6 separate regions of the Homo sapiens genome follow, and regions 2, 3, 4, 5 and 6 are each linked to region 1. Evidence: promoter capture Hi-C in 16 types of primary human blood cells and fetal thymus (Javierre and others, 2016). All regions are on one chromosome and are shown on one strand. The core of a region is centred on a gene start or on the middle of the fragment in contact, and the rest is flanking DNA. Distances in the headings are between cores, read along the strand shown. Region 1 holds the start of SLC43A1 (solute carrier family 43 member 1). Region 2 overlaps ZFP91 (ZFP91 zinc finger protein, atypical E3 ubiquitin ligase). Region 3 holds the start of ZFP91 (ZFP91 zinc finger protein, atypical E3 ubiquitin ligase). Region 4 has its middle 16 kb from the start of CNTF. Region 5 overlaps LPXN (leupaxin). Region 6 overlaps LPXN (leupaxin).

Region 1 (3,437 bases), core at 1-2,500:
CCCTTTTATCTGAGGCCTTCTTGGAGCTTTCTGTAGTCATTCTTGTTTTGTTTTTGAGACAGAGTCTTACTCTGTCACCCAGGCTGGAGTGTAGTGGCATGATCTTGGCTCACTGCAGCCTCCATCTCTCCAGCTCAGTGATCCTCCCACTTCAGCCTGCTGGGTAGCTGAGACTGCAGGTGCACACCACCATGCCTGGCTATTTTTTTTTCTTTTTTGTAGAGACGGGGTTTCACCATGTTGTCCAGGTTGGTCTCGAACTCCTGAGCTCAAGCGATCCTCCTGCCTTGGCCTCCCAAAGTTCTGGGATTACAGGCATGAACCACCACACCTGGCCACCAGTATCACTCTTTTTTTAAAAAAATTTTATTTTTATTTTAAGTTCTGGGGTACATGTGCAGAATGTGCAGGTTTGTTACGTAGGTAAATGTATGCCGTGGTGGTTTATTGCACCTATCAACCCATCACCTAGGTATTAAGCTCAGCATGCATTAGCAGCACTCTTAACACACAATTAAACTCACATGTAATGAGATTACTTCTCATTACTCCACACCATAGTAGTCTATTTTACAGATGAGGATACTGAGGCTCAGGGAGGCTGAGAGATTTACCTGGAGTCAATCAATTGTTGATCTGGAAGCATCCGATCACCAGGTCTTCTGAAATAATGACAGCAGCAACAATTAACATTATGCTTACTATGCCAAATGCTATGCTTAGCATTTTACCTGCATCACAATCGCGATTCCTTTGGGCAGTTAGGTAGGTTCCATTTTAACCGAATTTAAAGAGGAGGAAGCTGAGGCTCAGAGAGGTAACTTGCCCTAGGTAACCCAGGGTAGTCAGTTAAAAAGTCAAGACTCAGACCTCGATCTGACTAACTCCAAAGAAACCCGTGCCACTCTGCCTCTCGGAAAACACTGCTTCCAGCTGCACAGTTCAAAACCCCACCCAAGGCGGCCCTGAATCGCGGTCAGTCGGCTTCAGCCGAATCGCACTTTGTTTTGAACAAGGATACAGAGGGCGCTGCCTGATGTTAGTCTGGGGGCTTGGGGGAGAAGATGGGGGTCCAGGGTGGAAATGTAGGTGCTGGGGCTGTGCCAGAGGGAGAGTGTCCGGGACCAGCGGGCGAGTCACGTGCGCGTGAAACTCGACCTAAGGGGAGGGGAAAAGAAGGGAGCCCCCGCCCCCACCTCGGGGCGCAGCTCCGGACGCGTGTAAATACAACTATCAACTCCGCAGATCCACTTCATCCAAGCCCAGCTTCGCAGACCTCTGGCGCCCGGCGGGTTCCCAGTTCCCCCGCTTCTTCCGAGGAGACAGCGGAGGCGAGGCCACCGGGCTGTCAGGCTGAAGCTCCGTGGCCGCCGGGTCCTGCACGCAGAGAAGACCCCAGCGCCGGCGCGGCTCAGGGCTGGGCCCACGGGACTCCGGACGCGCCGCGAAAGCGTTGCGCTCCCGGAGGCGTCCGCAGCTGCTGGCTGCTCATTTGCCGGTGACCGGAGGTGAGCAGCGTGGGCGGGGAGGGGGCGCGCGTAGGGTCTCCGGCTATGCGTCGGCTGAGAGACACCGAGGCCGGCTCCCGCCGACACTGCCAGGCTTCCCAAGGAAAGACCGTTACTTGCGCCCGCGGTCCCGCGGCACAGTGTCCCATCTCGCCAAGCGCGTCCTTCCCTTTTCTTTTCTCTGACCCCTCCGACTCTTCTCTTCCTCCCGGGTCCCCGCTCGCTGCACTTCCTCTGCTTAGAGCTGCGCGTTTGCCAGAGTTCCAGCGGACCTCCTGGAGCGCTTGAACCCAAAGCCCCGTTTCACAGATGAGAATACCGAGTCCCCCTGGAAGAAGTGACTGGTACTTCCTCCCCTCTCTCTGGGTCTTTCTTGCCCTTCTCCTCTCCGCTTTCCTCGGTCTCATCCCAGTTGTCGCTCCCCGCCCCCGCGCCGCCCGCGTTCCCTCTCCTCCCGCCGAGGCTGCAGCGGCCGCGGCGGGGGGAGCTGGGGCTCTTTCCCTCCCTTTGGTAAACACACCCGCCCGCCAGCCCATCCGCCACCGCTGCCCTTATAAAGTCAGCAGCCGCCAGACTTCCTGCCGAAGTCCGAGCCCCCTCCCGGGGCTGGAGGGGGGCAAGCGGGTTCCGAGGTGCAAAGCCTGGTGCCCCGAGCCCTGCGGAGTGAGTGAGGGGCGCGCGGGGGAGGAGGGAACCGAGGAGAGCCCGTCCTGGGTCTCCCTCCACGTGGCAGCTGTTGGCTTGGCCCGAGAGACTGTAGGGTCGTGGGTCACCTGATACGGAAAGGGGGAGGGCTTGCTGTCGCCCGGCCCCAGAGGGAAGGAGAGGTCTTGGAGGGGCAACTGGAAGATGGGGTCGTAGGGTAGCCTTGAACTTGCCCTTCTTCCTGCCAGCTTCTAGGGGTCTTTCCTGGCGCGAGAGTCCGGACATGGGCCCGCGGTGCTTCAGAGCGCGCTCTGCCCCTTGCTGTCCTCTGGGGACCTGGGCAGATGCGGACTTTCTCCCCAGCAGCCCGGCCCTGAGCGCCCTGGCCTGGGTGAGAGAACCCGGCAGCCTGCTAGGAAGCTGCAGCGCGCAGACAGGACCTTCCTTGTTTCCGATAGTGGCTCAGCGGGAGCCCCGTGCCGCGTGCACCTCTGGCACTGCTAGTGCGCGCGGAGCCAGCTCCTTGGCACCGGCTGGGAAGCCCAGGGCTCTATGGGGCCTCCATGAGGGGCTCCTCGCGGGCTGGCCCGAGAGGTCTCGGGTGCCACCATGATGCAGGACCCTTCCCTGGGGCCACTGGGGGGCCCTTCACCCAGCGCTCTGTTTCTGTGCAGGCTCGGGGCCAGCATGGCCCCCACGCTGCAACAGGCGTACCGGAGGCGCTGGTGGATGGCCTGCACGGCTGTGCTGGAGAACCTCTTCTTCTCTGCTGTACTCCTGGGCTGGGGCTCCCTGTTGATCATTCTGAAGAACGAGGGCTTCTATTCCAGCACGTGCCCAGGTATGCCTGAAAATGGGCTGGGTGGGCTGGGGGGAGGGATGGCAAAGGGGCAGGTGGAAGCCAGAAAAGGTTAGGTGGCCAGGTGGACAGAAAGCAGGGTCAGCAGTTGGACAGCCTCACTTCTCGACCTCTTCAAACTTCAGGGGGAGATTGGGTGGCACTCTGCCCACTGTTTCATTTATCTAATCCAGTGGTCACTGAATGCCAGGTGTCCTGCTGGTCATCCAGACCCTGGGACTAATAGGCAGAGTCCTAAGCCTCTGACAGCCTCAGGTCTAGAGCTCTTTGAAGGAGACGTGCTGGGAGAGGAATTTCTTAATAGGGCTATCATAAGACAAGGGAGAGCTGCACAAAGTGGAGTATGAATATAAAGGGCCCCACATCCTTCCCTTTTCAGGAGCTGGGAGCCCCCAGGTTTTCAAATTACTCATTTGGACAAAGTT
Region 2 (3,405 bases), core at 271-2,770, 1.1 Mb before region 1:
GAGCTCACATCATACGCAGTGGTAAAAGACAAAGCTCTCCTGCTAAGGTCAGGAACAAGACAAGGATGCCCTCATTCTTCACTTCCATTCAACACTGTACTGGAAGTTCTAGCCAAGTAATTACTCAAGTAAAAAAAGAGGCACCCAAAGTGAAAAGGAAGAAGTAAAACTGTATCTCTATTTGCAGGTGAAAAGACCTTACATATAGAAAATTCTAAAGAATTTTCACAAAAGAAAACTGTTAAAGGTCATATACAAATTCGAAGGGCCAGAATATAATACCAACACGTAACATTCATTGTTTTAAGCATATTAGCAATGAACAAAAAGGAAATTAAGAAAATAATTATTACCTTTATTCAAAGTGCCAGAATATATGACCAACATATAACATTCATTGTTTTAAGTATATTAGCAATGAACAAAAAGGAAATTAAGAAAATGATTACCTTTACAATAGAATAAAAAGGAATAAAATATTGAAAAATTGTTAAGATGACAATACTCTGAAAATAAACCCACAGATTAACTGTAATTCTTATCAAAACCCCAGCTTCCTTTTTGGTAGAAATTGACAACCCAATCCTAAAGTTCACAGGAAAATGCAAGGGATCTACACTAGTCACAGCCATCTTGAAAACAAACAGAATTAAAGACGCACTTTTTTCTTCTCAATTTCAACACTTACTATAAAGCTTCAGTAATCAATACAATGTATTACCGGCATAAAACTAATAATAATTGAATCAACTAACTGAATTAAAGGTCCAGATATAAATCTATACATCTGTGGTCAACTGATTTTTAAGAAGGTGGCTAAGACCATTCAGTAGGTGAAAACAGTCTCTTCAAGAAATGGTGCTAAGACAAATGGATATCCACATGCAAAAAATGACGTTGTATTCCTACCTTATACCATATATAAAAATTAACTCAAAATGGATCAAAGACCTAAACACAGGAGCTAGCACTAAAAAATGCATAGAAGTGAAGATAACCCTACAGAATGGGAGAATATATTTGCAAGTCATATATCTGGTAAAAGTCTAATATCCAAAATATATAAAGTCTTTGGATTTAACAACAAAAAGAGAAACAACCCAATTAAAACATGGGCAAAGAACCTAAACAGATTATTTCTCCAGAGATATACAAAAGGCCAAAAAAGTACTTGAAAAGATACGGAACATCAGTCATTAACGAAATGCAAATCAAAATCACATGAGATTACCATTTCCCACATACTACAATGGCTAACTAAAAATAATAAAAAAAGAAAATAAGAAGTGTTGGTGAGAATGCAGAGAAATTGGAACCATTGTTTATTGCTGGTGGACATGTAAAATGAGGCAGCTAATGAGGAAAACAGTGTTATGGAAAACCTAAGAAAACAGTGTTAAGAAAAATGTTAAGAAAAACTTAGACACAGAATTACCATATGATCCAGCAATTCCACTTCTAGGTACATACACCAAAAATTGAAAACAGCTATTCAAAGAAATACTTATTACATATGAATATTCATAGAAGCACAATTCTCAATACCCAAATTGTGGAAACAACCCAAATATCCATTAACCAGTGAATGGATAAACAAAATGTCATATATACATACAACGAAAATTTTTATCCAGCCATAAAAAGGAATGCAATCTTAACATGTTACAATGTGAACCTTAAAAATATGCTATATGATAGATGCTAGAAACAAAAGTCACATATTGCACATATTGTATGATTCCAATTACATATAATATCCAGAATAGGTAAATCCATAGAGACAAAGCAGATTAATGTTTGTTGCAGCTGAACAGGAGGGAAGGGGGAATAACTGCTTTTAATGGGTACAGGGGTCTCCTTTGTTGGTGGTGATGAAAATGTTTGGAACTAGATAGAAGTGATGGTTGTACAACACTGTAAATGTACCAAATGTCACTGAATTGTATGCTTTCAAGTATTTTTTACTATTTTTTTGTTATGTGAATTTCACCTCAAAACACACACACACACACACACACACACACACACACACACGTGCACAAAAGTATTGCCAGGTTTCTGGAATAGAAATTGACAACTGAAGGACAATCCATACATTAGCATAAACAATCATAAACAGATAGGAAACAAGCCAAGTTTCTTCTGTGTGGTACTTCAAAGACAATTTCCAGTTGTTTCTTATAATAGCAGCTAACCTTGAGGAGGTTCCTTGATACATAAATAATAAGAGAAAAAAGCCATACTAGCTTGGGTAAAGGAAGACATCATACTAGTCACTGCATGAGCAACATGCAGGCACAGTGAATATAACTACAGTTAGTTAACCCTTGAACAACAAAGCTTTGAACTGCATGGATCCATTCATACGCCAGTTTTTTAAAATATGTAAGAAAATTTTTTGGAGATTTGTGACAATTTGAAAAAACTTGCAGACAAACTGTGTAGCCTAGAAATATTGAAAAATTAAGTTATGTCATGAATGCATAAACTATAGATACCACTCTATTTGATGACATTACTGTAAAATATACACAAATATAAAAAGTTAAAATTCAACAAAACTTACACACACAAAGTCTTAGACTATATATGGTATCATCCAAAGTCCAGAGAAATGTAAAGAAACGTAAAGATGTACTAATGAATAACTGCATAAAATTAACTCCGTACATAATAATTTCATAGCTATCTCCTGTTGCTATTGCAGCAAGCTCAGCTGTTTCAAGTATCTGCTTAAAATGTCATGAGGATAATCATCACCACCTGAGTGAATTTACTGTCACAGTAGAAGTGGTATCTCTCAGTTAACTCATTTTTCACTATGTTTAGAGCAATACCTGAAACCTTGACTAACACTACGGGACCCATAAGAGTTGCCACTAGTGATACTGGAAGTGCTTCCAAGAAGCAGAGAAAAGTCACGGTATTACAAGAAAAAGTTGAATTGCTTAATAAGCATAGAAGGTTGAGGTGTGTAGCTGCAGTTGCTCACCATTTTAAGATAAATGAATCCAACATAAAAAGTATTGAAGAAAAGGAAATTTGTGAAGCCACTGCTGCACCTACAGTAGCAGGTGCAAAAATCTTGCAGTTTTTGCAAAATACTTTTATCTCACATTCAAGATGCAGCTTTTATGTGGGTACAGAATTGCTATAAGAAAGGCATACCTACAGACTCTAAGTAAACTCATTATATGACAACTTAAAGCAAAAGAAAGGTGAAGAAAGAATTTAATGTCAGCAAAGAATGGTTTGATAATTTCAGAAAGAGATTTGGCTTTAAAAATGTCAAGATAATAGGAGAAACAGCTTCTACTGACCAAGAGGCAGCAGACAAGTTCCCAGGCACTGTTAAGAAAACAGCTGAGGAAGGATATCTGCCTAAGTTTTTAATGCAACTACCCC
Region 3 (3,116 bases), core at 527-3,026, 1.1 Mb before region 1:
TCGACAGAACTGCAGTTCTTACAACAAATTCTCTAAATTATGTTAACTTAGCTGACATTCAAAAATTTGAAAGCATATCTAATACCACAATATGATTACCTCTGAATTTTATTTCTCTTTCTGAGAGGCTTCTAAGGCAAGCATGCCAAGACACAGGCTTAACTCTTAATTTTGGACCAAGTCTGTTTCAAGTTTTAAATCTATTAGGTCTGGTGTAAGTCAAACCTTGCCACTATCTCTACTGGAAGAAAGGGAACACTTAAAACTGACTCCCCCTCACTTCAATTTTCTCTGTTTTTACTAATCTGTTTTCACTCAAAAATCAAAGGTCACTAATGATGTTTTCAGTCATGAATTGAATAGTCAATGTGATTAATTTCTAGAATTTACAAACTTGTGTGCTTCAGTATTCTTAACATGAGTATTATTTTAACGAACAATTTAAGACAATGCTCCTGGCCACCTGTTCATGTTTCCTCTATTACGTCTAGGTAATAAAGGAATTCCTCTCAGATGATTCTAATTTCAAGGATGAAGTTCCTACATTTAAAAACACGAAACACAAAGATAAAACATATGCTACTTAGTAAAAACAAACATTAAAGAATGCTCATATAATTTTATATGAAAGACTCCATACTTAAAATCGTAGCAGTGGGCTTTTAACCTGACCATAATAAGTGGCAAATTTCTCAAAAGAATGAGAAGGGTTGCGAAAAATTTAGAAAAGTGAAAAAAAAAAAAAGCTACATAAACACACTAGTACATCTGGCTCTTGAGCTAACGCGAAGGCGGGGGGGAATCATTTTTGAAGGCTATGATCGGGCTGTGTATTCCCTAAAGGGCATGTGATGTAATACTGGAGAGCCGCCTAAAGGAAAGGGATAGGGTGACAAAGGGGGTGCGGATGCCAGAAAGAGGGATGAGCCTGCGGGTGTCAGGGAGGAGGTGGATCACTAGCGAGTGCAGGGGTGTATCAAAAGATGATTTCGGGGAGTGGGGAAACGGCCCGACAAGCGAAGGTACAGGAGCGAGATGAGGGTGGCGCAGAGAGGAGGCACGAAGGCTCCCGGGGAAACGGTGTGACATCTGGCGTGCGGAGCCGGCAGGGGGCAGACCAGGCAGGATGTCACGTGGAGTAGGCGCTACGGGAGCCGAGAGGGTTGCGTACGGACAGAGGGGGGTCTTTCCCACCGCCTGAAAGACTGTTACTCACAGGAGTCGCGGACTCTTCTTGCCCTGAACTGGAGACGGGGACTTCGCGGCCTGGGGCTGCTGCCCGGGGACGTCGGGAGGCCTGGCGCTGGGGCTGCTCCTCCGCCGGCGGGGATACTCGGCCTTCCTCCGGCGGGACACAGCTGCGGCGGCGGCGGCCGCAGCGGCCCGGCCTCGGTCCCGACCTCCCCTCAGCACGCGGCTGCTAGTGGTCCCTGCAGGCGCCGCCGCGACCGCCTCAGGGGGCCGTTGTTGGGGCTCCTCCGGAGCCGCCTTGGCCGCCTCTCCCCCTTCCTGGTCCTGCTGCTCCGGGGGTCTCGGCTCTTCCGTCTCCCCCGGCATCGGGGCTTGTCCGTCCCCCACCCCCTAGTCCTAGGCGGCGGAGGCGGAGGCGGCGGCCTCGGCGCTGCTCCCCCCGCCCCCTCGCCTCCCGAAGCCTGCGGCTCACTCTCACCCTGCGCTCCTCTTTCCCCCCTCCCCTCCGCCCGGCTCCGAGGGCGCCCCCCCCACCCCCTGCCACTCAAGGTCCGCTACCGCTGGCGGCGCGCGCGCGCGCGCCACAGACGCTCAGCGGGCCAATCGGAAAAGAGGACAAGCCTCCTCACCCCGCCCCTCGCAGTCTTACACGCAGCGGCGCCCCAGGTTCCCTCCCCCACCCCTTCCTTCAGCCAATCAGGAAACGGCTAAAAGGGGAGCGCGCGAGGTTTCCTTCCCCGCGCACCCGTTCTCACCGTTAAACGGCTGTGTCTCGCGACAATCCCAAAGTGACCTTTTTCCCCCCTCCAGACTTCAACGCGCGCTAGGGGCAGTGCGAGGGGCAGGTCTCGCGAGGGAGGCGGGTGAGAAGAAATCGCACCTCTTTCCCCGCCTCACGCAAACCCTAGACTGGCTGCGCGCGCACCTGCCTCCCTGAGGAGCCACTGATACCACAAGGGCTCTTTCTATTCTTCTTTAGGCCGCAGAAGTAGCCTGGGCGTTCTTCCGCCTCCACCCTACCCCACTTTCCTGTCTTTGGCCTTTCTGTCCCCAGCGCCGCCAGATCTTGCGCGGAGAAGGGGGTAGTATTTTGAGCTGTCGCTTCTCCTTTAAGAAAAAAAGCCCCGTCGGTTGCCGGATGAAAGTCTCTGAAAAAATGGCGGCGGCAAAACGGAGGCGGGGTTGTGGGGGCAACGAGGGCCCGCCTCTTGGCGCATGCGCACCGTTAACTTAACCAAGGGCATTCTGGGAGATGAAGTCTTATTTCGCCTAGGCTTTAGGAAAAATAGATGGGAAACCAGAGGTGGAGAGGATGCCGGGAGGTTCTAACTGAGTCACGACGGGAAAGGTAGTTTACTTTCCGCAGTCTAGAGTTTACCTTTTTTTCGGGAGGCAGTGTTTCCGGGTTAGGTCGCGACGCGTGCCGTACATCCGGGCTCAAGCGTCGAGCCAATTGCTGGTCTGATGGGAGGGTTTTTCCTACTTTTTCTTACTTTTTATCTGGGCGTTGGCGTACCTTTCTCGGGGTGTCTGCGTAACTGCCCAGACTTGCCTTGGTTTGGTCAGATGACACCTCCTCTGGGACTGGCTAGCCAGCGTTCATGTCTACATTATTGATCTCGTCTTCCGGTGTGTGAGTCACTCACCTGTGAGCTCCTAGAGGTCAGCGACTAAATCTGGTTCCATGGGGTCCTTGGGCCCTCGGAGCCCTAGCACAAGGCCCACTACTCAGTTGGCTCTTAATCAAATCTGTGAAACGAATTATAAAGTTGCTTTTCTACTAGACCTTGTTGGGACACCAAGGAGCCGGCGTCGGTTGCTTAACTTGGATGCGGTGCCTGACCTAGAGGGAGGCGAAAGGGTTGTGAGCGTGACATGACTGGTGACCTACACCGAGAAGCTGAAGGGTCTCTTAAGCTCTGCGG
Region 4 (3,124 bases), core at 545-3,044, 1.1 Mb before region 1:
CAAACATAGAGATTGGAAAGAAGCATTACATTGAAAGAGCACTAGGCTTTGGATTCAGACAAACCTGGATGCAAACCCAGACCTTGAACAAGCCATTTAACCCACTTCCCTAAAAGAACACCTTATTTTGTGCCAGGCACTCTGCTGGGCATTTTATATCCAACAGCTCAAGCTTGAAGAGGTTATTATTGTTCTCATTCTGTAACAGATGAAGGAAGTGGGACTCAGGGAAGAAAGCCGTGAGAGTGGGAGGGCTCAGCTGATGAAATGACAAAACCCAGATTTCAATTCAGGTCTTGAGAAGCACCCATTCCTCTGGCCAGTGCTGCCTCTCCCCATACAGGGTGGAGAGAAAAGACTTCTGCTCCAAGCACACTGTTAGAACCAGCTGGAACCAGGAGCAATCCCATGCTCCTTTCCGTGAGCCTTCTTTAATTGCAAATGCCCTAAGAGGGATAAAAAATCAAGACACTGATACTGAATAGAAAGGAGAAACACCACACATAGATCAGTGAATGGAAATTGTGCTTTGGCATCAAAGAACCTGGATTCAGATGCTAGCTCTGTTGTGTACTGTGACCTTAGGCATTTTACCTGACTTCTGTGGGTCTTAGTTTGCAAATGTGCAAAAGTAGAATGGTGAGAGGGTAAATGAGATTATAAAGCACATATTTCAGAGGCTCATTTAGAGCAGTAGCTAGTCTCAGAAAAAGGAGGAGCCCCTAGAGGGTTCCAATGATGAGGCCTGCGAGGATGCTGGGGTTTCAAGGCTGCAAGCAGGCACTGAACATGTCCGTGCAGGGGGAACTGCTGGACAGCGGCTAGAAAAACCTAAGTAATGCAGAGCTCGGGCTGGCATTGCAGCAAGTAACCACCTCTTTCCAGACCATGTGCACATGGTGCCAGGAGGGATAGGGTCATAGAAACCCAGGCAGAGCTTGTTGACCACTGGCTCAACTACACCAAAGCCTGGGCGGCTCCATCAGTGCTAAGCTCCGCTTCCTCCCCAGCCTTAATGGTAAGTTCTCAGCCAAGTGCCAGAACGTCAAGGCGTACAACCCGGGGTTCCATCAGGTTGTAGGTCACAGCCAGAGTGCAGGTCCACCACAGCATCTACTCTCTGAAGGTCCCAGAAACCCCTGATATTCAGCCCTGCTTCTCGCAGCATGTGCGGACCCTCAGCAACCACCTGGAGAACCACCCAGACCCAGGAGGCCAAGTACCTGGCAGAGATGCTTGTGCTCAGGTATGGCAAGCATGTCCTCACCCACGTGGAGGCAAATACTCGTCACTGGCAAGTTTTTTGTGCCTCAGCTTGGTCCTCTTTAAAATGGAGTTAGTGTGTCAAATTCCTAGGTTACTTGAGAGGATTAAATGAGCTAATGGAAGCAAAGCACTTTGGAACACTCTCTGGCCTTTCTAAATGTGAAAGTTCATATCTATGACGATTTGCTGCTGCTTTAGGATTGAGATCCCAGAGTCAGATCACACAGACCGAGGCTCAAGTCCCAGCACTGCTGCTTACTGGCTCAGTGACCCTGGGCAAATTGTCCCACCACTCTGGGAATTAATCTCTTCTCTAAAGTTGGGATAATATTAAAATTGATGTCATAAAATTACTGTGATGATTAAATGAGATACTGCAAGGAAACCCTTCCCCATAGTACCTGGCCTGTCACCTTGAGCTGTCATGATGTGGAATTGACCATGATGATCATTCTGATGGTGATGTGAGGACGTGAGTGGCAGAGTTCTATGTACCATGAAGAACATAAAGATGTCCAACCAGGGCTCATGGTTGAGTGGGGCAGATACACCTAATATATAAATTACTCATTGTGAAATGTGATACAGCTTCAAACATTTTCTATGGGAAAATGAAGGAGGGATACAAATTCTGAGAGATGTCTGATAAGGCTTCTGGAAGAGGATGGAATTTCTGCTGCATCTTGAAGATTAGATGTGAGAAAGAAAAGAAGGACTTCCCAGAAAGAAACAGAGTTTGATCCAGGGCTGGGAGCAGGAGCACCAGACTCCTTCTGGCCTCAGCCAGACACACATAGATTTGTTCAATTCTGCTGGCCTGGGAGAATCCTTTCAACAGCAACTGGAAGCTCCATTATGATGGCCTCAGTTCATTTCTTTGAAAATATCCCCAGGCTCCGGAAACTGAGCTCCCTGACTGAGAAAGGTGAGGTGGGGGCCAAGGCAGAATAGGTTTTGGCCTGAGGTTTAAAAAGAAAGGTGGGAGAGAAGAGAGAATGGATTATCTTATAAGTAGAGTAGTCATATAATTTATCATCCAAATCTGAACTCCGGTTGAAACCAAAAAAAAAAAAAGGTGTTTTAATTATATGGGACAATGCTCATAAACTGGAACGTATGACATCCACCTTGATATGACTGTTTGTCATTGGGCCCTGACCTCCCTTGTCATCCTGATCTCTAGCTAGCCTTCAGATTCCCCCTCCCATGACACACTCCCAATATGTTCCACACACTGATCCCCTGATGTGTCATGGTGATTCCTGGCTGTGCCTTTGCCTGATGAAGTCTAACTCATTAATCAAGACTGGGTTCAGATGTCAGCTCCCTTGAGAATATGTCTTTACCTGCCCCTCCTTCTCACACACACATACTCCTTCAATCTCCCAGGAAGAAAGCATCTCTTACTCCTCTTGACGACCACCCAACCTTAGCAGTATGTTTATATGAGCATGTCACTTGGCATGAGTTCTTTTTCCAATTTGACTAAGAGCTCTTTTAGTGTGGGGAGGGTTGGTGTTGTCCTTATTGTAGTTACTGCCAGGGCTCAGCCTCAGAGCATCAGACAGAACTCTGAGATAGGTGCTGTAAATTTTAGAGGTATGTGCTCTAAAAGTTAGCTGAATGAATGAGAGAAAACCAGAAAGAGGTCTTATGAAGCCTCAGGTGATAGGAACCAGCTATTGGATTCTTTTAAATGACCTGCCCCTCTTGGATTCTTAAGTGTATTATTATTTCATTCATAAACCCGTTTTGAGCCCCATTTTTGTCCATTGTAAGTGCTATCATAAATACAAAGATGAATAAAACTTAGTTTTCACTGCCTCAAAATATTCTAGGCAAGTTGACCAAAAAATAG
Region 5 (3,339 bases), core at 545-3,044, 1.0 Mb before region 1:
ATATTGCTTTTAACATACCTTCAAAGTATTTTCAATACTAGCTCTGAATATAACAATGCAATAACATTTCTAGTATAGTTATATATCAATAGCAACATGAGCAATAATTTAGAAATGTATCTTTTACATAAACAAAAATAATTCTGGTAATAATCGAGAGGAATAAGTCATAAAAATATAACAGAGAAATAAGTAGGGGAAAAAAACCCAGCACAATGAAGCCCCTTGCTTAAGTCTGGATTCTTTTAGATGCATCTCTTGTGATATGTGTTACTGAAATCTCTGAGCAGTGAAGTAAGTTGCTGCTGATGACATAGCCAAGCATCTTTACTATCTTCAAAAGGTCAGGGAACAAATCAAAGGTTCTTCTCTTTTCAGGAACATTTCCTGCAGTGGGCACTTTAATTTGTAATCATTAACTCTTCAAGGTCTCTCATTTCTTATGTAGAATTTTATACTGTTGACTCAATAACTGTTGGAGTATTATAACAATGATCTATTTCCCTTTCTACACTGCACTAGGACTCTAGTTAAAAACCAGTGGGAATTCTTTGAATAAGCACAAATTTGCCCCAACTGTGAGATTGGAAGGTTTTTTAGGAATATACAAGCCCTGCTAAGAAACTGCATTTGTTCTGCATTTGGGCATAGGGCAGCAGAATGTGTTCACAGTCCTGCTGCCTTTTGTATTCCCAAGGCATTTGCCTGTGGCAGCAGCTACGAAAGGATTATGACTGATCGAGCTGTGAGAAAAAGCTCCAGTGTACCTTCTGGGAAACATCCACAATGGATTGAATCAATTACTTGCATACTTGACTGGTTTTGCTCTCAGATTAAAACAAAAAATCTTGCATCTAGTAGAGGGCCATGTTGTACCTAAAAGATAAATCTTTTATCTTAAGAGATATCCATTTTCCTCTTATATTTTCCTTGTTGTTAAGTGATCAAAAATAAGTGGACATGAGATATGTCGTATCCAAAAGATAGTCTTTTCTTCTTAAGAGAGAAAAGTATCAACTTTTCTTCTACTTTTTTTCTGGCTGGTAACTACATAAAGATAAGTAGTAAATGTATGTTTTCATTTTTGAAAATATATTAAGTGAAAGACAGAACATTTACTTTTATTTATGACTTTGCATCTTTGTGCAGAGAGAGAGAGAGAAAAGGCTTGAGTAGTCGTGAGACAGAGGGTTTTGGTTTGGTGGGTTGTTAGCTAAGCTCTGTTGATTAATGTTGATTACAAACATGATTCCACAGTCAGTTACCTTTTTATACCTTTTGGCCCGGTGATTTCCCTTCTTAAAATTTAACTCTTATGTAAATGATCAAACATGGGTGCAAATATTTGTTTGGCAGTATTGATTATAATAATGAAAGTTAGAAAACAATCTAGGTGTCCAGCAATAAATTATTAGTTTGATAAATTATATAATACATTATCTATTTGAAAATATATAGCCTTTAAACATTATTTTGGCAGATAATTCAGGACACACAGCACAAACTTTGCAGTTTGCAGGCCCAAGCTCTTTGTTACTTGCCAACTGTATTATGTACAAAAAAGTTTTTAACTTCTCTAAGCCCCAGTTTTTCATTTGGAGGTGATAATACCTAGCTCTTAAGGTTGTTATTATAAAAGATTTAAAGAGAACCTGTGTAAAGCTCTGTATAGAGTGTCAGGCATAGTGCAGACAGACATTCAATAAATGCTACCTATTATGGTTGCAGAAGATAGAAAAATGTTTGCATAAGAGTAGGAAAAATGTATAATTTTAGTTTTCTAAAATTACACACAATCATAGTTAAGTGTAATGGTATCAGCCAAAATGTCCAGAGTAAATGCCTCCTGAAAAGGGGATTATATGTGTTTAAAATTTTTTCTGTATATTTCTCTGCAGTTTTCAAATTTTCTACACTTAACATGTGTTAATTTTATATTTTAGAACAATTTTAAATAGAAAGCTCTACACTGTGACTATATTTATGTACTTTACTGAAGATTGTTTGTAGAACCATTGTGTGTGTATGTGTGTGTATAATAACTGAGATATACAGGTGAATTGCATTACTGATGTCTCATCTGACACCTCCACCACTTCATCTGTTGGCCATGTGTGTTAGCTATTTTCCTAGTATAGATGACCTGTGTTTTGTTTTGTTTTAAAAATATAACTTAAGATACAAAACTATTTCATAAACTCATGTGCGTAAAAAGTCGAAGAATTTGGAAATGTATACATAGGGTGAAAATTGAGACCACTCCTCTTAGAGTCTTTCCTCTCACCAACTCATTACCAGCTCCACAGGTAACTGCTGTCAGGTTCTTCTCCTTACAGACTTATGTGTGTGCATATTCATACTTATGTACATGGGCTTATAAATTTATATAAATGGAAGTAAATTTTTTTCTTTTTTAAATTTGAGATAGGGTCTGTCTCTATTGCCCAGGATGGAGAACAGTGGTGTTATCTTGGCTCACTGCAGCCTTGACCTCCTGGGCTCAAGTTATTTTCTCATCTCAGCCTCCCAAGTAGCTGGGACCACAGGCATGTGCCACCACACCCAGCTAATTTTTAAAATTTTCATAGAGATGGAGTCTCCCTATGTTTCCCAGGCTGGTCTTGAACTCCTGGGCTCAAGCAGTCCTCCTACCTCAGCCTCCTGAAGTGCTAGGATTACAGGCATGAGTGACTGCACCAGGCTGGAAGTATAATTTTCGTATTGTTCTGGGCTTTTCTTTTTTACACTAACAATGTTTGTTGGAAGTCTTTTTTAGTTCACTTAAATCTATGTCTGCTTAGCAGTTGCATGTTATTCTATAGCATGGATGAACCATTATTTATTTTACTTTAGCTCCATTGGTTTATTTCCAATTTGCTCATAGAAAATGTACCCTAATAAATGTCCTTGCACATATATTTATATATATATGTCCAATTTTTCTGTAGGATAGATTCTTAGTAGCAAAATTGCTCAATCAAGTGGTATATGTGTCTGAAATGTTGATAGATACTGCCTTGCAAAAGTGTTTATAAATTTATATAACCACCTATGGTATATATAAATGTGTATGTGTATATATATAAAATTCATATTTTGCCAACACTGCATATTATCCCTCTGTTAAAATTTCAACTAATAGGTAAATATTAGTATCTCATTGCTTTAAATTGCAAATTTAAAGATTAATGAGGTTGAGGGTATTTTTATATAGTAATAAACATTTGAGTTTCTTTTTCTGAAACCTGCTTTTTAAAAGAATCTTTAGCTCAGGTTTCTATTTTTCTAAATTATTTATACATTTCTTTAAAATCTTGAATATTATGTTTTAAATATTTA
Region 6 (3,426 bases), core at 116-2,615, 1.0 Mb before region 1:
CTTGAAACCCAGGGCCCTGGTGGCGTAGGCACAAGAGGGAATCTCCAGGTCTGCGGTTTGTGAAGACTATGGGAAAAGCACAGTATCTGGGCCGGAGTGCACTGTTCCTCACGGCACAGTTTCTAATGGCTTCTCTTTGTTAGGAGAGGGAGTTCCCTGACCCCTTGTGCTTTCTGGGTGAGGCAACACCCCACCCTTTTTCGGCTTGCCCTCAATGGGCTGCACCCACTGTCCGATCAGTCTCAATGAGATGAACCGGTTACCTCAGTTGGAAATGCAGAAATCACCTGCCTTCTGCATCGATCTCACTGGAAGCTGCAGACCTGAGCTGTTCCTATTCGGTCATCCTGCCAGCAATCTCCAAATTATTTATTTTATTGCTCATGTCATCAGTTTGATATACAGTTAATTTTCTTCAATTTGATTCAATTTTTTAGGGATTCATGTTTTTCCATTTTAATTTTTTTACTTTTTTTTTTTTTTTTTGAGACAGAGTCTCACTATCTCCCAGGCTGGAGTGCAGTGGTGCGATCTCGGCTCACTGCAAGCTCTGCCTCCCGGGTTTACGCCATTCTCCTGCCTCAGCCTCCCAAGTAGCTGGGACTACAGGCGCTCGCCACCACACCTGGCTAATTTTTTGTATTTTTAGTAGAGACGGGGTTTCACCGTGTTAGCCAGGATGGTCTCGATCTCCTGACCTCGTGATCCACCCGCCTCGGCCTCCCAAAGTGCTGGGATTACAGGTGCAAGCCACCGTGCCCGGCCAATTTTTTCACTTTTTAATTATGTACAACAATAGTTGAAACCATACATATACTCAGGAGTGGAATATAATTAGCAAATATTTTCTTCAGATTGTTATTTGTCTTTGTTTATGGTGATTTTTTGACATGTGTAAGTCATTCAGATATATTTTTATGTAGCTAAATTTATTAATATTTAACTTGCTTTTGGAATTTGGGCTTTATTTATGACAGTTTTTCTGTTTCCAGATTAAAGAGGAATACATCATTAATGACAAGATATGAAATGCAAATGCACACATTAAAAAAACCCTAAGTATCATTAGCCTTTCGGGAAATACAAATCAAAACTACCATGAGATAACATTGTATAGATAGATAACATCCATTTGATTGATTAAAAAGGAAATATATGGATATATCAAGTGATGTAAAGACTGAGGAATAATTGGGATTTTCATACACTGCTGGTAAACAATAAAAATAATATACCCACACAAAAAATAAAAAAAGGAGGAATACATCTATTTTTAATTCAAATATATGGTATGAGTCATTGTGTTTAGATCTTGCATCCATCTGGAAATTATTATTTAGTAGTATTTTATTTTAAAATATCAGATGCTTTTTTTCTTCCCAGATGCTGTTTTAGATATTAGAGATATAATGGTGACAAGATCAACAATATCTAGTTTCTCTCAGAGCTAATGTTCCTGTAAGGGGAGACAGCCCACAAAGATGATTTTAAATAAAGGTAAATGCCATAAAGACGGTGAAAGAAGATGATGTGACAAGGAGGGACTGAAGAGATGCCTCTCTGATAAGATGATATTTGAGTGATTCTTGCATCACATGAAGAGGACAACTATATCAGGCTCTGGGACAGAACTATCCAAGCCAAGGGAATACTTAGTACAAAGGCACTGAGGAGCAATAGCCCCTAACACTTATTAAATGTTTACTATGAACCAGACACAATGCCAAAACACTTCCTCTGCATTATCTCATTTATTTCTTACAACTACCCTTTGAATTAGGTAACAGTAATCATCCTATTTTGAATATGAGGACACTGAGATTGAAAGGGCCTCCTCTCAGTCTCCAGTGTAGCTTTCAGGGCTCAACCTGCAACAGTGAATTCCTGATTTTATCTCTCCAGGCTTTCATGAGAAGGACAAGAAGCCATATTGCCGAAAGGATTTCTTAGCCATGTTCTCACCCAAGTGTGGTGGCTGCAATCGCCCAGTGTTGGAAAACTACCTTTCAGCCATGGACACTGTCTGGCACCCAGAGTGCTTTGTTTGTGGGGTCTGTATAATCACTTTTCTTTCGGACTTAGGGAAAGTCAAGGGTTCTCCTCTCTGAGAGGAAGAGCTGCAGTTAGTGAAAGGGTTCACAGTCCTGAATGAGGAATGGATGTGCGCATCCTAAAGGAGAAACGAGATACAGATCCATTTGCTTGTCTGTTTTGCAAGCGGGAAATCTAGTCTCCATTTGTCAAGAACCTGAGGGAAATTCCTGTAGCTGGCAGGTAACTGTCAGGAATTTCAAGGCTGAAAATTTTACTTTGCTGACATTTTACCTCTTGACATTTGCATTCTTTTTCTCTCTCTTCTCTCTACCCCAGGACTGCTTCACCAGTTTTTCTACTGGCTCCTTCTTTGAACTGGATGGACGTCCATTCTGTGAGCTCCATTACCATCACCGCCGGGGAACGCTCTGCCATGGGTGTGGGCAGCCCATCACTGGCCGTTGTATCAGTGCCATGGGGTACAAGTTCCATCCTGAGCACTTTGTGTGTGCTTTCTGCCTGACACAGTTGTCGAAGGGCATTTTCAGGGAGCAGAATGACAAGACCTATTGTCAACCTTGCTTCAATAAGCTCTTCCCACTGTAATGCCAACTGATCCATAGCCTCTTCAGATTCCTTATAAAATTTAAACCAAGAGAGGAGAGGAAAGGGTAAATTTTCTGTTACTGACCTTCTGCTTAATAGTCTTATAGAAAAAGGAAAGGTGATGAGCAAATAAAGGAACTTCTAGACTTTACATGACTAGGCTGATAATCTTATTTTTTAGGCTTCTATACAGTTAATTCTATAAATTCTCTTTCTCCCTCTCTTCTCCAATCAAGCACTTGGAGTTAGATCTAGGTCCTTCTATCTCGTCCCTCTACAGATGTATTTTCCACTTGCATAATTCATGCCAACACTGGTTTTCTTAGGTTTCTCCATTTTCACCTCTAGTGATGGCCCTACTCATATCTTCTCTAATTTGGTCCTGATACTTGTTTCTTTTCACGTTTTCCCATTTCCCTGTGGCTCACTGTCTTACAATCACTGCTGTGGAATCATGATACCACTTTTAGCTCTTTGCATCTTCCTTCAGTGTATTTTTGTTTTTCAAGAGGAAGTAGATTTTAACTGGACAACTTTGAGTACTGACATCATTGATAAATAAACTGGCTTGTGGTTTCAATAACTCATTGTCATATTTGTTTGGGAGATAAACTTTCTGCTTCCCGTGTTATATACTAGGCACTATGTACAATTAAGATTATATCATACCTCGTTTCCTTCCATCCAATGCACACTTTAAAATTTTTAATCAGAAGAAATTAAAAGGAGGGTCTCCTTTTCACTAATTTTTCTTTTTTTTCTTTTTAGTTTGGTCCCATAACCATT

Evidence for each region. Contacts are between HindIII fragments. The CHiCAGO score rates a contact against its expected background, and 5 or more counts as called.
Region 2: a fragment that was not itself captured here is called in contact with the fragment with the promoter of SLC43A1 in region 1 in 5 of 17 cell types (non-activated CD4 T cells, erythroblasts, total CD8 T cells and 2 more); the score reaches 8.7 in non-activated CD4 T cells.
Region 3: the fragment with the promoter of ZFP91 here is called in contact with the fragment with the promoter of SLC43A1 in region 1 in 4 of 17 cell types (naive CD8 T cells, non-activated CD4 T cells, naive CD4 T cells and 1 more); the score reaches 14.0 in naive CD8 T cells.
Region 4: a fragment that was not itself captured here is called in contact with the fragment with the promoter of SLC43A1 in region 1 in 2 of 17 cell types (activated CD4 T cells and naive CD8 T cells); the score reaches 5.7 in activated CD4 T cells.
Region 5: a fragment that was not itself captured here is called in contact with the fragment with the promoter of SLC43A1 in region 1 in 1 of 17 cell types (neutrophils); the score reaches 5.7 in neutrophils.
Region 6: a contact is called between a fragment that was not itself captured here and the fragment with the promoter of SLC43A1 in region 1, in 3 of 17 cell types (total CD4 T cells, naive CD8 T cells and naive CD4 T cells). The highest score is 7.5, in total CD4 T cells.

The regions. Positions count from the first base shown.
Region 1 is chr11:57,513,515-57,516,951 of GRCh38, reverse strand. SLC43A1 (solute carrier family 43 member 1) reads left to right here and starts at 1,250. Exons shown (of 15, transcript NM_003627.6): 1 at 1,250-1,508; 2 at 2,828-2,994. The coding sequence starts at 2,841. RefSeq lists an enhancer at 1,027-1,096. The HindIII fragment of the contact is 5,778 bases long and covers 1-3,437 here.
Region 2 is chr11:58,597,379-58,600,783 of GRCh38, reverse strand. All of the region lies in intron 2 of ZFP91 (ZFP91 zinc finger protein, atypical E3 ubiquitin ligase), which reads right to left. The region is part of intron 2 of ZFP91-CNTF (ZFP91-CNTF readthrough (NMD candidate)); the gene reads right to left. Among named protein-coding and RNA genes, the nearest start is that of ZFP91-CNTF, 20 kb to the right of the region's middle. The HindIII fragment of the contact is 1,645 bases long and covers 698-2,342 here.
Region 3 is chr11:58,577,723-58,580,838 of GRCh38, reverse strand. It overlaps ZFP91 (ZFP91 zinc finger protein, atypical E3 ubiquitin ligase), which reads right to left and starts at 1,776. Exons shown (of 11, transcript NM_053023.5): 1 at 1,217-1,776. The coding sequence starts at 1,557. ZFP91-CNTF (ZFP91-CNTF readthrough (NMD candidate)) reads right to left here and starts at 1,725. Exons shown (of 13, transcript NR_024091.1): 1 at 1,217-1,725. It also overlaps a transcript of LPXN not described here. RefSeq lists enhancers at 707-1,398, 2,143-2,372, 2,092-2,784, 2,403-2,922, 2,943-3,022 and a silencer at 1,303-1,722. The HindIII fragment of the contact is 10,569 bases long and covers 1-3,116 here.
Region 4 is chr11:58,636,994-58,640,117 of GRCh38, reverse strand. No RefSeq gene overlaps it. Among named protein-coding and RNA genes, the nearest start is that of CNTF, 16 kb to the right of the region's middle. The HindIII fragment of the contact is 3,239 bases long and covers 175-3,124 here.
Region 5 is chr11:58,558,958-58,562,296 of GRCh38, reverse strand. All of the region lies in intron 3 of LPXN (leupaxin), which reads left to right. Among named protein-coding and RNA genes, the nearest start is that of LPXN, 15 kb to the left of the region's middle. The HindIII fragment of the contact is 8,448 bases long and covers 1-3,339 here.
Region 6 is chr11:58,526,668-58,530,093 of GRCh38, reverse strand. LPXN (leupaxin) reads left to right here. Exons shown (of 9, transcript NM_004811.3): 8 at 1,903-2,051; 9 at 2,371-3,223. The coding sequence ends at 2,640. Among named protein-coding and RNA genes, the nearest start is that of OR5B21, 20 kb to the right of the region's middle. The HindIII fragment of the contact is 4,221 bases long and covers 1-3,426 here.